2 separate regions of the Homo sapiens genome follow, and region 1 is linked to region 2. The links are contacts of gene promoters, found by promoter capture Hi-C in human tissues and cell types (Jung and others, 2019). All regions are on one chromosome and are shown on one strand. The core of a region is centred on a gene start or on the middle of the fragment in contact, and the rest is flanking DNA. Distances in the headings are between cores, read along the strand shown. Region 1 holds the start of PPA2 (inorganic pyrophosphatase 2). Region 2 overlaps LINC02503 (long intergenic non-protein coding RNA 2503).

Region 1 (4,677 bases), core at 2,178-4,677, 1.5 Mb after region 2:
TTTTAGTCTAATGTCTTAAAGTCAAAAGGGAAAAATAAATAACATTTATTAAATACCTATCACGTGTGAGACACTGATAATTACACACATAGTCTCATTTAACTGCCACAGCAATTCTATAAAATTACTAGTGCTATCCCCATTTTATTTACGGAGAAACTGAGCTACCGGATGTCATCTGAAGGTAAGGGATGCCTCTGGTTAATTCAGTCGAGTGACTTGTCCAAGACGGTAAAGTCAGGACTACAACTTAAGTGGTTTGACTATTAGTTTAGAACTGTTACAGCACAGTTGCTTCTGGAAGTTGCAGAAATCATAACCCTGATGTCACTAAGATGTTAACAAATGTTCTGAGAAATAAGTACTCTGTGGTTCAGTTTTTGGAGAAGTTACATCCGAATTTTCCAGAACTTAAATAGGCAAATTCTTCTTCAAAAAAGTAATAAAATGGGAAGTGTTCTAATTTATTAAACCATGAAACCCTCTGTTTTAACGAAAACCTAATAATATACCATGGGATGCTTGTGTTCAACTAAGCAGTCTGGAAAATGATCATCTGGTCCAATCTCCTCATTCCATGGTTTTAAAAAATGAGATGCAGGGAGGTGAAGTGACAGCAAGATACTAACAGGGTCAGGGCTGGCACCAAGGAGGCCTGATGATTCCCATCAGGATACCCTTTCCCCTAATCATCCTGTCTCACTCTTTCTACAAAGTTTAACACCAATTTTTTTTTAAGTATTACATCAATCATTTATTCTGATTTTACTGAATGACAGTAAAGAGAAACCATTTACAGACATGAAGCTCGAAAATGTTCTACCTCCCAATGCACTAGTATTTCAGAGACTTGGAATATATTTGGAGATGTGGAAAATGATTACACTTTAGTAACACTGAGTAACAATTTTAGGCCAAGTATACTACACTCATATTTTTTTTGAAGTGAGACATTAGTCCACCCTAGTACTGCATACAGACACACTGAGTAATAAATATCCAATCTGTGATCATCTTTATAAAGGGCAATTTATTCGTTGCTTTCCCCTTACCCCATTCGCCCTAGAGTGGCTTCGTTTCACTTTGCCCTACCCCTTCTAGCAGGTAGTAAACAGTCCTGGCCAGTGATGCCATCTGGCGGTTAGTTCAGAAATTGTTTAACCAACACACCTTCCAATCAGGATCTTACCATCGGGACCCTCTCCAAAACCACACTCCCCTTTCTTCCAGTTTTTGCCCATTTACCTTAGTAAAATCGGGTTTTCTTCTTTCCTGCCCTGTTTATCCAACTGAATGAAAAACGTATTTTATTTGTGGCACTCTAGTTACAGAAAAATCATGAGTCCTAAGTACATTTGCAGCTAAAGAAACAAACCAACAATAAGAGGCCAACATACTCCCAAAAATGCCCCCATTCGACATCCTGTCTTAACAGAGACTGTTAGAATCTCCGTTATTCATCCAATGCCTTCAGGGAATACCAGTGCTGAGAAGGACCTTGAGGATCATCGTTTCAAGGTCAAAAGCTTCATTTTACAGCTGAAGAAACTGGCTCTGTGAGAAAGAACTGAAGTAACCACCCACCCAACAGCACACAGCGAGTTAACGGCAGAGCCAAGATTATGGCCTAGGACTCCCCATTCCAAATCCGGTACTGGGTCAACTACTCTGTGCGCTCCTGGCTTCTCAAGCCTGTTTTTGCTCAACCAGTGTATTTACTTTTTCCATAATTATAGTAATATTGTGAATCTCTGTACTATGCCTAACAGTGTCTAGCACACTTCATAAATATTTATTATTTGGGTATCTATTAATTACCGTACTTATTGCAAATCTAGAATACTTGCAGTAGACAGGCCTTTTTTCAATCTGCTTAAAAAGCGAACTGCCACTTCATAATTTTTTCTGACTATTCCCATTAATCATCACATGGTAACCTTTTAGAACATAATCCATTCAGAAATTTGAGACTTCCTGTTCACCTGATCAGTCTTAACCAAAGATAGAAGAAAATATGTGGCATAGGGTGAAAACTGCAACCAATTTTGAAGAAAATAGAAATTCTAGTACTAGTTGCATTATAATCACACGACTTTAGGCAAACTCTTCTTTCCCACAAAATAATCCTCGACCCTAAACTCATGTAGCATAACTGCAAATCTCTCATAAATTACAAATATCTATAATGATTATCGGTATTAACAATAGTAATTTATATTTTAGGCCCTGTGACTAATCAGTTTACATATATAATGTCATGTAATACTTGCAGCCCTATTTTACGGATGAGAAAAAACAAGGCTTAGCAACTTAAACTCGTCCGGGGTCACAGAGTTAAGACGTGAAGAACTCGAGGGCCTGCTTAGAACTGAAAGCCTCCAGAGCCAGTGCTCCGAAAAGGGGAGCGATAATGCAAGGCCCACTTTGATACTACCACTCCAAGGCTCTGCAGTCAGTGGGGAGTGAAGGCAAGCGACCGACATCGCTATTTTCTGTTACGGTTAACGTACACAGTGAAACAATGGGGTACACGGAACAATGAGTCACGAAGACCTGGGTCCTTTCTCTGAGCTCGGCAACTCAGGGACCCCCCCGAAGTCGCTTAGCCTTCTGGGCTTGTTCAGCTTGGGGAGGAAAAGGGGCTGCTCCGGAACCAACGAGGCTTTGGATGGTGGATCACACTCAGGGTGTAAACTTGTGCGTACCAAGTCAAGCTTCTGGGGAAAGAACCTTCATCAGAGTCCCTCCAAAAAAAGAAGACGCGCTGGATTAGGCATCCGCAAAGTTCCGCCTGCCTCTCCGACGTCAGGGAGCTCCCGCAGTAGGAGGTTTCTTACGCCTCTAGGAAGGCCGGCGTGTGGGCGGGCTCTGCCTTCCCTTCCTCACTGAGTTGTGTGAACCGGGAACGGCGGCCGGGCCGGCTAATGGCTGCAGGCCGCCGCGGGGTGGCCGCTTGCACTCTGCCTACCCCTCGGGGAGGGCGGCTGGCAGGGCACAGGGCGCTATCTACCCCCCAGCCGGCAGCCCTGCGCCTCTGCTCTCCGCTTTGGGGTCTTGATCCGCCGCCTCCTCGCTGGCAGTTCTCGTGACTCGGTGCGCGCTCCCGCGGGAAGTAAGGTGGCCTGGACCGCGCGGCTACCGCTGAGGGCCCCAAAAAGAGAGAAGGGAGACCGCGCGGGGCGTCCCAAGTGTCCCCCATTCCATCCCCCACCCAGGTTTCTCCGGTGCGCCGCTCGGCGAACCTCCGGGAGCTACTTACTAAAGAAGAGGCGGTAATTCTGCGAGCAGGGCTGGCCGCGCTCCTCAGTGTGGTACAGGGCCATAGCACGGCGCGACCCGGTCCCTGCACTGGTCCCCAACCGCAGGCACGCAGCGGCTGGGGCACCCGTGCGCAGCAGCCGCAGCAGCGCGCTCATGGCGTCAATGACGGTCCTGCTGTGCGCGCGGAGCTACCTGGGGGCTCGGCCGGGCCGCACGCCGGTGCCCCCTACCGTCCGGAGTCATCCCTCCCGCCCCGGCGCTCGGGCTGCGATCCTGGTCCCTGCCAGTGGAATCTGGAACACCAGCCAGTTGTGCGCACTATGCCCTCAGCGAGGCCGCAGCTCAAAGACGAGTGAGACAAGACCCACCACCCCTGAAGAGCTCACTGCCACTCGTTAATTCATACATTTATTCATGCCTTCATTTATCCCGTCAAGAATTACTATCATGATTTTTTAGTATAGTGATGTAATATTGAGTGATTACTCTGTGCCAGGAACTGCTCTAGACCCTGTCCAATATAGGAGATGAGCGCACATGCACGCAAAGACATCACTATAAGACAAAATGATCAGGCCACCACGTGAAAACGGGACGTTGACACCGACTTACAGAGCAAAAAACCCTAAGTAGCTTACTCAAATGCCATCTTCTCCATAAGGCCATTTCCTAACCCAGTAGAGATTATTTATTCTTTCTTTTATTTTATTATTTTTTGTTGTTGTTTTGTTTTTGAGACGGAGTCTCACACTGTTGCCTGGGCTGGAATGCAATGGTACAATCTCGGCTCACTGCAACCTCCGCCTCCTGGGTTCAAGCTATTCTCCTGCCTTAGCCTCCTGAGTAACTGGGATTACAGGCATGCGTCACGACGCCTAGCTAATTTTTGTATTTTTAGTAGAGACAGTTTCCCCATGTTGGTCAGACTGGTCTCGAACTCCCGACCTCCATTGATCCGCCTGCGTTGGCCTCCCAAAGTCCTGGGATTACAGGCGTGAGCCACCGCGCATCGGCCAGGCGGGGTGGCACACACGCCTGTAGTTCCAGCTACTTGGGAGGCTGAGATAGGAGGATGGTTTGGGCCAGTATCCAGGAGAATGGATATTGTAGAACAACCAGTAGTCTGCCACGTGTCATTTTATTTTTTTCTAGTCCATCTTCTTTGGGACTATCATCATCTAGGCTACTTTCCTACTGGGCACCCAGGTTCTTTCAGCATCTCCAATTATCGTGTGATCATTAAAATTGAGATACTGGTCTACCCAAGTTCCAGAAAGGATTCCTAGGAGATATTGTGACTAGCTACTTAGAGACACTCTACTAAGATTATAGATCCTAAAATGTTTTTGTCAACAGTGGTACCTTTGTAATGTGTCAACTTGAATAGGCATAACTATAAGGCAAATGCTCCCATAA
Region 2 (4,810 bases), core at 1,672-4,171:
CAACACCACTGCCTTAATCACTGGGAAAGATGTTCTTGCTTTGGAATAAGGTGTGTGTGTGTGTGTGTGTGTGTGTGTGTGTGTGTGTGTGGTGTTTTAAGACTCTTTTTGATTCCAAGGTATATGTTTTCTGTGAAGCCCTTCTTTCCTTATTCCTGTGCCTTGGACAAGCTAGGAGAATAGGTGGGCTGCATGTAGTCTGCAAGGATGGTTGTCTGAATCCTTATAGGCAATGTAAGGATATTGAAAGTCCTGCATTTCTGTTTTAGGAAGATAACTCTGGTGGTTGTTATCTTTTCTGCCTCAGAATCTCGCTCACTAAAAATAAAAATCTCAAAGGTTTAATTTCTTGATTTCGGGCATGGTCCAGTACATATTTGAAGGTGGCACCTCTTAGAAAATATTTCTCCTTTAAATATGTAAATGTAACCTGAGAGACAAATTCTCCTGGGGGATCCTATCTCCCTTCTTTCTCTTCTTTTGGTCTGCATGTTGTGGTGGCTTCAGAAGCCCATTGCAATCAAACAATAAAGATTTGAAGTAAGTTTAGTGCCATTTAGATGAAAGAATAAAAGAGATGTATTAACTTATATGGTTGAAACATAAGTTGTTTGTGAATGAAATCTATAGAGAAAAATGGGAATAGGGAGTAGACCGTAAAGAATTACATGAAGAAAGATGTTGACAGAAACGAAATAAAACTGTTTCAGAATTGATATTAACTGGGTGATTCGGGTATTAATTAGGCAATTTGGATATTAATTAGATAATTTGTTACTTTCGCAGAGTTTTACGAACTAGAAATGAACCTGCAAGGGTGGTGGTATGTGTGTGCAAGTAAAATCCTGGGAATGGTGCCAAATTGAAGTTCTTGGAAAATTGAAGTCCTTAATTTTCCTGGATAACAGGTTCAGTAGTATTAGCAGAAGCTTCAGCAGTAACATCAATGCATTATATTTAGGATGACCCGATGCAAACATCCTCAAGGCTGGAATGCTTGTTCTGTCCTTCATATTGAAGGGAGAGTCATTTGTTATTGCTTCAAGGAAAGCCTACTTAAAAAAAAAATCCCTGCTAACGGAGATTTATCATTTCCATGGATTACTACAATTTGAGAAGATCACTGGAATTAGAGTCAGTCAAATGTATAAGGGCCAAGAATCCTCAGAAGTGCATTTTAGCACCATTTATTCAATTTGGTTGACATTGGCTGACAAAATGATGAGCTAGTATTTTCCAGAACAGAGATTCAAGAATTATTGTTTTTCTCTCTAGAAACCAAATTGAAAAAAAGTAGAATCTAGTATAAACTATGAAACTATATAGCTCAGTTTACTCCACTATTTTTTTTTTTTTTTTTTTTTTTGAGATGGAGTCTTTCTCTGTAACCCAGGCTGGAGTGCAGTGGCGCGATATCGGCTCACTGCAAGCTCCACCTCCTGGGTTCACACCATTTTCTGCCTCAGCCTCCGGAGTAGCTGGGACTACAGGCGCCCGCCACCACGCCTGGCTAATTTTTTTGTATTTTTAGTGGAGACGAGGTTTACACCATGTTAGCCAGGATGGTCTCGATCTCCTGACGTCGTGATCCGCTCGTCTCGGCCTCCCAAAGTGCTGGGATTACAGGCGTGAGCCACCGCGCCTGGCCTACTCCACTCTTCAAAAAATTAAGATTTAGCATGTTAATTAAACAACTGACTATCTAAAATATTAGTTCTGTGAGAGTAAGAAAGGTGTCGTGTATATTGCTCTGTCCCTAATGTTTACAACCTTCTTTATACATAGCAGACTATCAATCAATATTGGTGAATAAATAAATGATGCATGCCATAGAGTTATAACTACCTACTGTTGTAGCCCCTTACCACTATTAAAAGTGTTTAAAGTTATGAAGTTAAATCACTGCGATTGAAAATATTAAACGTGAAAGATTACCAATTAATGTGGACAAGGAAAAATAATGCTTCCCTTTTCTAATCAACTCCCTCAGTCCCTTAAGTACCATTGAGGTGGCTTTAGTTGAGTTTGGATGTGTAAAGGTTGCCTGTTTGCCACTTGCCAGCAGATGGCCTAATTCTTCCATCATTCACTAAGTATTGGAACTATTCTTTATAAAGAAAAGCAGTTGGTGAGAAATAACTTTCCTCTTGATTTTTTTTTTATTTTTAGCAGAGACAACATTTTAGTATATTTCCCATTATTTTTCATTGGATTAAATAATTGATTAGATATGCTAATTTTAACATAGCCTATTCAATAAGGAATCAATTCCTAATCAATAAGGAAAGAGTACACTTTTTTTTTAATATATGCCAAATCATCTAGGACGATCTATAGAGGTGACATACTAATATCATTGCCTTGGGGATAAATTGATTCATCAGCATCTATGAGTAAATGAGACTCTTTATGTTCCTCTAGACAGTCCTTACAAGTCATTTAAAATATTGTTCACATATAGATGACTTTATAAATTTTTCTGAAATTCAGTGAAAAGAACTGTGATGTTCACTCATTTTACCTGTAACAAATTTGCTCATGTTTCTGAGGTTATTTACAAATTTATAACTTAACTGTAAGGGAAAAGCATTTTTTCATTTGTAATACATACCAAATTCATTATTTATGAGTAAATATGAAAGAGATAATATGTAAAAAATAAGAGAAAGAGCAAGAGGTGGAGGGAGGAATTATTAATTAATTTAATTAAGTATACTCTTTTTGATATTCTACTTTATTAACTCTACTAATGTAAAAATATATCATTCCATTATTTACTTTCTTTTGAATCTTGTCTACCTCTTTAGGGGCATTAAATATTCAATTGTTGTGTGCTATTTAAATGTCAGCACTATAAGAATGGGGCTACATCTGTCTCATTTATTACTGTTTACATATTGACCACCTGCAACAGTGCCTGGCATATGGAAATAATTCATTTAATATTTATGGACTGCATCAATTTTATTTTGAGCACCTTTTCTAAGGTAAACCATTAGGAAAGAACAATGAAATGTGGCATAATGATAGGGCATCTTAATCTTAGGCTGTTCAGAAATTAAAATAATCTAGCCAGTTATTTATCGAAAACTTGCTCCATCATACCTGTTTGTATCTTGAAACACATAGCTCCCTCTTTTTGATGTATTACTTGTTGCAAAAGTTACCCAGTAAATAAAGATTCTTCTTGAGGGAAATCAGTGATCTGTCCCCCATCCTAAGATGTCATCACAAAAAATTGAAATGAAAATAGAAAGAAATTCCAGAAATAGCATCAACAATGCTATGCTTGTGCACTCTGAAAATTAGGAACTGGGTTCATGGTGCTTGGTTTATTTATTATAATTAATAAGTATTTTAAGTCCTTTTAGGAATACTAACTATTACATCCTAAAATGTTTTTCAAAAGAAAATGGAAAGGCTATAAAAAGGCATTTTAACCATTTTTATCCCTGATACTCCATTTCCTTTCATTTGTGGCTTACCCAGGATTTTGAAAGAAGAAAAGTAGGCTCTTCTGTTCCCATCATGGCAACTGTCTGATTAGCCTTTTAAATGCATTTGATATTGTACAGATATTGCTTCAGTATTTAGAGAAGAAAGACACTTTTGTCTCCCAGTGGAACTGTGATTGCTTTCTTCTTTGACAGTTTACAATATTGTTTTGTCTTTTGTTAAGCAAATCATTGGAAAATTATTTTTTGTGAAACATGAATGTGGTATTTAAGATTTATGATTGTGTCAGTTTTAATCCATATTTTAAAAATAAAACCCTCAGGAAAAGAGTATACCCTCACTAAATACATACCACAACTGATTTACTGACATAAATATATATTTGTAGTTAAAAATAATAATGTTTAAACATAAATTTAAAAACCTAGATCTTTCAATAGAGAGTTCAAAATCCTAGAAAATTCACAATAGCCTAAATATGGCATCAACCTAAATATCCATCAGTGGATATATCAATAATAAAAATGTGGTATATGTACCCAATGGAATACTATTTAGCAATAAAAAGGAATGACATCCTGTCATTCACAACAACACGGATGAGCCTGGAGGACATTTATGAGTGAAATATGCCAGGCATAGAAAGATAAATACCACAGGTTCTCCCTCATATGTGGAGGCTAAAAAAAATTGAGCTCATAGAAATGGAGAGTAAAGTTCTGGTTATTAGAGGCTGCGAAGGGTGGGAAAGAGGAGAGGCTAAAGAGGGGTTGGTTAGCTAATACAAAGTTAGGGTTAGATGGATGGAGTAAGTTATATTGTTCTGCAGCACTGTAGGATGGATATGGTTCACACTAATTTAGTATGGACTTTCAAAAAGCTAGAAGGGAGGATTTTGAATGTTCACAACAAAAAGAAATCATAAATATTCACGGTGGTAGATATGCTAATTAGCCAGATTTGATCATTACACTTTGTATACATGGACGGAAATGTCACTCTGTACCCCTTAAATATGTACAATTATTACTTGTCAACTACAAATAAAAGGAAATAAATAAATAAGCAGGGGATGGGAGACAATCTCAGAAGATTCTGGAAGGATGTTTGGTGCTGTAAAGTTGATTTTTAAGGATAACATGAAAGTTATAACTCAACTTCAGAGTTCTATCTCCCTTATCCAATACTTTCAGTGTGTAAAAAATAAAAGATGTCTGCACAAGCTTATTTACTTTAAAAATGTTTTTAGGAAGTTTCTCAAATGTGCCCAAGAGACTTTGGATATTAGTATCGGTAAACAGAAAAATGTTAACACTTTTATATTCTTAATGCATAGATGATTGTTGCTTTCAAG

Evidence for each region. Contacts are between HindIII fragments. The study calls those that stand out against the background at their distance.
Region 1: the fragment with the promoter of PPA2 here is called in contact with a fragment that was not itself captured in region 2 in 1 of the 25 tissues and cell types used here (lymphoblastoid cells).

What each region holds. Positions count from the first base shown.
Region 1 is chr4:105,470,635-105,475,311 of GRCh38, forward strand. It overlaps PPA2 (inorganic pyrophosphatase 2), which reads right to left and starts at 3,428. Exons shown (of 12, transcript NM_176869.3): 1 at 3,260-3,428. The coding sequence starts at 3,416. RefSeq lists enhancers at 2,609-2,778, 3,069-3,188 and a silencer at 3,409-3,618. The HindIII fragment of the contact is 4,779 bases long and covers 2,121-4,677 here.
Region 2 is chr4:104,013,812-104,018,621 of GRCh38, forward strand. The region is part of intron 5 of LINC02503 (long intergenic non-protein coding RNA 2503); the gene reads left to right. Among named protein-coding and RNA genes, the nearest start is that of LINC02503, 55 kb to the left of the region's middle. The HindIII fragment of the contact is 5,615 bases long and covers 115-4,810 here.